2 separate regions of the Homo sapiens genome follow, and region 1 is linked to region 2. Evidence: promoter capture Hi-C in 16 types of primary human blood cells and fetal thymus (Javierre and others, 2016). All regions are on one chromosome and are shown on one strand. Each heading gives the region's core, a stretch centred on a gene start or on the middle of the fragment in contact. The rest is flanking DNA. Distances are from core to core; before and after follow the strand shown. Region 1 overlaps NTM (neurotrimin). Region 2 holds the start of ADAMTS8 (ADAM metallopeptidase with thrombospondin type 1 motif 8).

What was found. The method cuts DNA at HindIII sites, captures the fragments that hold promoters and counts their contacts. A CHiCAGO score of 5 or more calls a contact.
Region 1: a contact is called between a fragment that was not itself captured here and the fragment with the promoter of ADAMTS8 in region 2, in 1 of 17 cell types (endothelial precursors). The highest score is 7.1, in endothelial precursors.

What each region holds. Positions count from the first base shown.
Region 1 is chr11:131,673,242-131,676,865 of GRCh38, reverse strand. The region is part of intron 1 of NTM (neurotrimin); the gene reads right to left. Among named protein-coding and RNA genes, the nearest start is that of NTM-AS1, 11 kb to the right of the region's middle. RefSeq lists an enhancer at 2,557-2,851. The HindIII fragment of the contact is 2,124 bases long and covers 1,200-3,323 here.
Region 2 is chr11:130,427,040-130,430,282 of GRCh38, reverse strand. It overlaps ADAMTS8 (ADAM metallopeptidase with thrombospondin type 1 motif 8), which reads left to right and starts at 1,674. Exons shown (of 9, transcript NM_007037.6): 1 at 1,674-2,716. The coding sequence starts at 1,997. The HindIII fragment of the contact is 10,262 bases long and covers 1-3,243 here.

The sequences.
Region 1 (3,624 bases), core at 1,012-3,511, 1.2 Mb before region 2:
ACTCCAGAGGCTGAAGTGGATCTGGGCTAAGTCTCTGGAATTCATACCTTGTGTTGTGGCTGTGGAAGAAGACGCCTTGTTCTTAGAAGGTGCATAGTAAATATGGAGGGAAGCTGTTCAATACACTACTTTTATTACATTTTTGAAGGTTTAAAATTTTCAACGAAGAAAAAGTGCACCAGGCAGACTTCTTGAGCAAATCTGTCTCTCCAATGGCTAATTGTGGTGCCTGAAGGCCCATGTTAAAACATTTAATTATAGACTTCCTGAAAATATGGAATTGTGAAGGTCGTCTGATAAAACCTTCTGTCTCTTATGTGCTCCCTCCACTATGTGCATATGCAGGTTCACAGTCACGCATGCATGCGCACACACAGGCATACCCCCGCACACGCATGTACACAGGCACAGACACACACACACACACAGATACACACACCCTCAGTGCTAGAAAAACTCCAACGCAGCCCTTCACTTCTTTGGGTAGCTTAGACCCTTAAAATTTCCTTTATATTGAACAGATTGCTCCCAAATAACTTCTGTCCATCAGTCTTGGTTTTGTTTTATGTAATTATACAGAAAACATCTCATTCCTTTTCTACCAAACAGCACTTAAATATCTGAAAACAGTTATGTGCTCCCAAAGCCTCCCTTTTCAGTTTCTCTTCCCTATGTTCACCTGTTTTGAGACAAAATGGACCTTTGTGTCTTCCAACAGCCTCTTGCTAAAAATCAAATTATCCAGAAGAGAAAAGCAAGGGTTCAGGTTCAAGTCTCTCATTTCAAAATCTGGCTAAATGTCAGTCCAGTCCCATGGTGACATGGACCTACCCAGCTAAGTTTCCAAGGGTGAAACCATTGGTCCAAGGGGTTTGCTTGCCAGTCCTCTTCAACACCAAAGGTGAAAGCCATAAAAGACTCTCCCAGATTATGGATCTGGACCCCAGTCCTTGCCCCTGGAAGCAAAGTCAAGCAGACGTCTGGGCTTTTCTCTCTTCTAGAAACAGGGCCATTTTCTTTTAGGGGATTTAAATGGAAAACATCCTCTGCCTGAAGTCTTGAGTCACCTTCATCTGAGACGACACACAAAACCACAGACAAAATGCTGGCAGAGGGTCTTCTAAGTCAAGGCCCTCTGTGGAATTTTGTACTCAGACAGTCTGTGGGTGGAGGGTCACATGATGAGAAATGTACAAGCTTTGGAGTCCAAGCTGGGTGTGAATTTGGTCTCCTCTAGGATATAGCAGCTGCGAGAACTCGAGTAAGCCGCTCAGCCTCCCTCGGCCTCAGAGTCTCCTTTGGTTAAAATGAGATAATCCTACCTCCCTTATTGGGCTGTCATGAGAAATGAAAGAACAAAAATGCAAATTCTCTTGCTCATAGTAGGCACTCAACAAGCAATGATTAATTAATGCGGCCACCATTCCAAAAAGTTATAACAATGCATTTGGCAAAGGTTCAGTCTGTATTACTGGTTATGTAAGATACTAATGAATTATTATAATAACATTTGTGAAATCATATCCTAGCCAGTAATAAGAATTTAAAAATGTGTTGGGAAAACCACCCGTGATATATTGGGTTTGAGCCAAGAAAGCCAGTCGACAACAGATGAGCTACTCTGCTGTTTAATATACTTAATAAAACAGTGTAGCTGCCCGAAATTGCTGTCTTGCTAAACAGAAATATCCCAAGGGTTTAAACAGAAAAGATAAATGCTCTCTTCGTCTTATACAAGAACCAAAGTAAAGATGGAACTGGGGATCTGGAAGCTCAGGCAGGATCAGGAAGATGGGTGCTAGGCGAAGGTTGAGGTCTGCTCACCCGGGCTAAGCATTTGAAAAGAAAAGAGTCTTCAAATATGGTGGGATGAATGCAGGAAATGGGACTTTGGAATCCATCTGGCACACTGGGAGCTTTCTTTTCTAGCAGCAAGTGAGTAGCTGTATGAAGATCCAGATGAAAGGGAGAATATAAGACCAAATTCTGTAAACTATGAGCCCCACATCTTGGTCCCTAATCCATGCATGTCTTGGAGCTGCAATGAGTTTAGGTGCCTGATAACCTATATCCCGCGGGGAAGGTTTTTCTGTCTTTCAGAGAATTTCAGAGAAGCAGCATTACAGGTAACCAGACAGGGAAATCAGGCTTGCAAATAACAATGGCAATATTCTTGTAACTGCAAATGGGAACAATAAGGCTGGTTCTGTTACACTGAGCCAACACCAGATTCATGGGAACCAGAAAAAGACTACAATCATAGCAATGAATGACTTCAAATGAAATGAAGCAATCCCACACAAAGAGTTCGCTTGCCCGACTGATACCAGCGAGTGGCCAGCTCTCTGGTGTTTCAGCATCCTCAAGGCCAGAGCATCCCAGCTGCAGGGAAGCAGAAGCACCATCCAGGTCATGCTGATCACTTTACAGGCGACAAGCCAAGACACACTAAGGACGTCCAGCCGCTAAGCCACAAACACCAAACTGAGCTTTAGGATTGAGCTTTCTTCCTACTATACCAGCCTCTCCTTTTCAAGAATGACAGCCCTAGGAGTGACAAGAATGTCTTGGGTAGAGAAGGAAGACTTTTTATGAACTGCATTCCTTTTCAGTGAGCTCTTTCCAGTTTCAGTGTAGGCGGTGGCCAAGCACTTGTGCAGCACGTCTGCTTCTCTGGGAAAGAGAACGTGTGCGTGTGGCACTACTTCTCATGGCCACGCGAGGGCGCCCGCACCCCGTGCTAGGACCCTTCCTCCTGCCTACCTGCTCACCCTACGCTGTGTGTGTATGTTTTTTCCATGAGGTCAGAAGTATCAAGGTTGTAAAATAACATATTTTCACTTGTTTTCTTCCTACATCCAAGACATAGCATTTCTGAAGTCAATTATCTCCCCGAGTTGCCATCATCTCCCTACCCTCTTTCTCTTTGTGCCGCCTTTCAACCCATCAGAGTCTGACACCAACAGACGGGGGAGTGGAGGTGTGGGCAAAAATGAATTTATTTTTTCTCACTGGTGATGTCAAATCCTTGTTCTGGCACTTTGTTTTAAAAGGACTTCTGCAAACGTGAGATCTCTGTTCTCCAGCCTCAGGAAGGAGAGCCGAGAGAGTGGAGGGCTGCCATGCTGTCTACAGAGGGTCTCAGGTGTCACCTGGGCCCCCCAAGGTACAGGTCCCTTTAGTACCATTTGTCCAGCAGTGCTCCCAGTGAGGGATGGAAGAGCATTTTTGCAGAGTTCCCAAAAGCAGACAAAATTAGAGCAGCAAGCATCACCCGCTAACTGTATCACGTCACTGTCTGGCACCATATTTAAATGCAAGCTTTGTCCAGAGGTGGGCAGGTGACCCAGATGATGAAGAGATAAGAAGAAAGACACACACACTGAAACACATACACACAGACAATGAGGACACAATTTGCAGTTCTTACAAAGTACAGGCCTGGGGGCTGGCAGAAAGGGCCCTGTGATCCTTTTGGGGCCACCATAATGCCCTGCTCAGAGAAGGCCACCAGCCTCCTTTGTCCTCTAAGGTAGGCATCCTACAAAGTTAGTGGAAATGGACTGGTCAACCTCAAGTCTCTCCACTCAGGAGCCCACAGGCAGCCCTGAGCATCCTCCTGGT
Region 2 (3,243 bases), core at 425-2,924:
TTCAAGGAGGTAAAAACCAGTCATTGAACTGTTACAATAGCCCTGAGGCAACACAGAGTTGTATTCATTGCTTGCCCAGGTCAGACTGTCCCAAGCACTGTACAGGATGTCCCAAGCACTGTACACTGTGCTAGGACGAAGTGTTTTGCTTGTTTTGAGAAAAGGGTTGAAGAGACCATTCTTTCCATTGTCCTTCCTCTAGAAGTGTTTCCCCAAAACATTCTAGACTCGTTATTCCTATCCTATAAATTATGCAGGAAAGGAGGTTCTGCACCATGCTAGGTTGGGAAGTTCATCCTTTCATCTAATTCACAGCTGTCCCTCTGTGTTTCTGAGAAAGCAAAGAGAGGGGGGATACTTAGAGGGAATTTGGCAGCACTTTCCCCTGGGCAAGAGCCTCCTCTTTGGAGGTAACAAGCCCTGAGAGTCTCAGATGCATGCTGAACCACCACACTGCAGGAAGGGGTCAGATGGGCTGAAAAGAATCAGCGATGACCTCGACTGTCAACATCCCCAGCATAAGCACAGAGCTGGGTACCTGGGGGCAGGTGAATTGGCAAAGGATTTAAAGGCCCTGATCCCAGCGGTTCCTAATGCATCACCCACATTGACAACTCAGAGAAAGGCACAGTTGGTGGATGAGTCTAGAGTTTGTAGGTAGAGAACAGGGCCCTCCACCCAATCCAGACCTGTGTCATTGAGACTGGGATGGGATGCAGTTTTGTGGTCTTGAGACCATGTCATCCCTCTCTTCCTGAATACTACCCCCTTCCCTAGGGGGCAGTGGTGACATGGGACAGAATAAATTCACCTCATACACATTTGTTCCTGGGGCTGTGGCAACGCAGTGAAAGGGCCTGCCACCTTACTTGAAGTCCCGGGCAACTAGCAGTATCCAGAAGAGAAGACCTTTTTCAGGGACTGGAGGTCTGTTTCCCTCTTGGGGAAATGCTAACTTCCAACCTCAGTGCTGGTAACTTACCACTGTGCTGGCCTCTGCCCCACCTGCCCTCTAACAGGACAGTGAGAGTCCCTCTTAGGGTTAACCAGGTGGGTTGTTTTTTGTTTTGTTTTTGTTTTCCCCATCTTCAGTTTGGAGTGAAAGTTAGGAAGGCTGTGCAGTAGTGATGAGAGGAGGGCATGATTTTAGCATGACCTTTTCCTCCTCTCCCTTTATGCTTTACAATGAAAAGCTCAGGAACCTTCTCCCCACACAGTCGGATCTCCGGAGGCATCTGCAGGGATCCCAACAGTGTCGGGCTCTGCAGTCGGACTCTGCAGGGATCCGAACAGGGTCGCTGAGACCAGTGCACGAGCCTCTTCGGAAGATGCATCCTGGACTCTTGGCCGCAGAGGAGAAAGCGGTTGGGGTCTCCCAGGGACTCTTTCTAAAGGGTCAGTCCAGCATGGTAGGGGTTAACGTGGGTCCACGCGTAGAGGGAAAGGAAAGAAGTTGTAGTTGACACTTCAGGGGGGCGGGTGGCGGACGGGTCTCGCTGCCTGATTGGTTTTGCATTTCATCCCAATTTTTTTTTCTCCACTCTCTCTCCCTCTTTTCAGTTTCTCTCTCTGATCCCAGGGGAGGGGAAACGGGAATAGTGAGAGATCAAAAATAAACCTCTTATGTCAAGCCGGGAAGGAAGTATAAATAAGAAGGGCTCGGCAGCCCACTCGGTGCTTCCCGGGGTGGGGAGGAGGCAGGAGGCGGCTGCGCGGGGCTGGCGCGGGCAGGGGCGGAGGACGGGCGCACGCGGGCCGGGGCCAGCTGCTCGCGCTCGGCTCGGGGGCGGCGGCGCGGGAGGAGCGGGCTGCGCCAGCCAGAGGGGCCGCCGGGGGAGCGCTCCCGCCGCCGGGCCCCGCGGGCCGAGTCGGCCTTGCACCCGATTGATTCCGCTTTTCCTGGAGAGAGCGGCCGGGCCGCGCTCGGGCCGCCAGCACCTGCCCGCGCCTGGCGGGCTTCTTCCCTCTCCTGCGCGCAGCCACCGCCGCAGCCCCCATGCTCCCCGCCCCCGCCGCCCCCCGGTGGCCTCCGCTCCTGCTGCTGCTGCTGCTGCTGCTGCCGCTGGCCCGCGGCGCCCCGGCCCGGCCCGCAGCCGGGGGGCAGGCCTCGGAGCTGGTGGTGCCCACGCGGTTGCCCGGCAGCGCGGGCGAGCTCGCGCTCCACCTGTCCGCCTTCGGCAAGGGCTTCGTGCTGCGCCTGGCGCCCGACGACAGCTTCCTAGCGCCCGAGTTCAAGATCGAGCGCCTCGGGGGCTCCGGCCGGGCGACCGGGGGCGAGCGGGGGCTGCGCGGCTGCTTCTTCTCCGGCACCGTGAATGGGGAGCCCGAGTCGCTGGCGGCGGTCAGCCTGTGCCGCGGGCTGAGCGGCTCCTTCCTGCTGGACGGCGAGGAGTTCACCATCCAGCCGCAGGGCGCGGGGGGCTCCCTGGCTCAGCCGCACCGCCTGCAGCGCTGGGGTCCCGCCGGAGCCCGCCCCCTCCCGCGAGGACCCGAGTGGGAGGTGGAGACGGGAGAGGGTCAGAGGCAGGAGAGAGGAGACCACCAGGAGGACAGCGAGGAGGAGAGCCAAGAAGAGGAGGCAGAAGGCGCTAGCGAGCCGCCACCGCCCCTGGGGGCCACGAGTAGGACCAAGCGGTTTGTGTCTGAGGCGCGCTTCGTGGAGACGCTGCTGGTGGCCGATGCGTCCATGGCTGCCTTCTACGGGGCCGACCTGCAGGTAGGACTGAGAGCCTCCTCCAGCCGCCGTGCCCGGAGGCCCCCCAGACGCCTCCCAGCGTCTCTAAAATCTCCCCTTCCAATCCCTCTGAGAAAAAAAAAAAAAAAAAAAAAAAGCCCTCCCCACTCATCTTCTCCAGCCTTACCCCAAACGAGATTCTCTCCTGTCTGAGAAAGAGCAGTAACTCTTTTCTGAACTTCTGCCACCCTGGATCCCTGCGCCCCCACCCCCAGGTCCCTTCCAGTTTAGAGTGGGGCTGCCGACGCCCATCCCTCTCATCCGAATCTCCCGCGGCACGTGGCGCACTGACCCGAAAGTGGGTATCAACGCATTCCCCGGCACCTGCCTCTCCCAGCAGAGATGAAAATTGAGCGTTTACGAATAGCTCCCACTCCCACCCCTCAGCCCTCTACTGCCTCCAGATCTGAGAGGCTCCCAGGGAAAGGCAGATGGGATGGAGAGAGATGGCTGTCTGATTCCCTTGGGTATGGAGGTCGCCATAAGCAAAAGACATTGTTTGAAAGGAG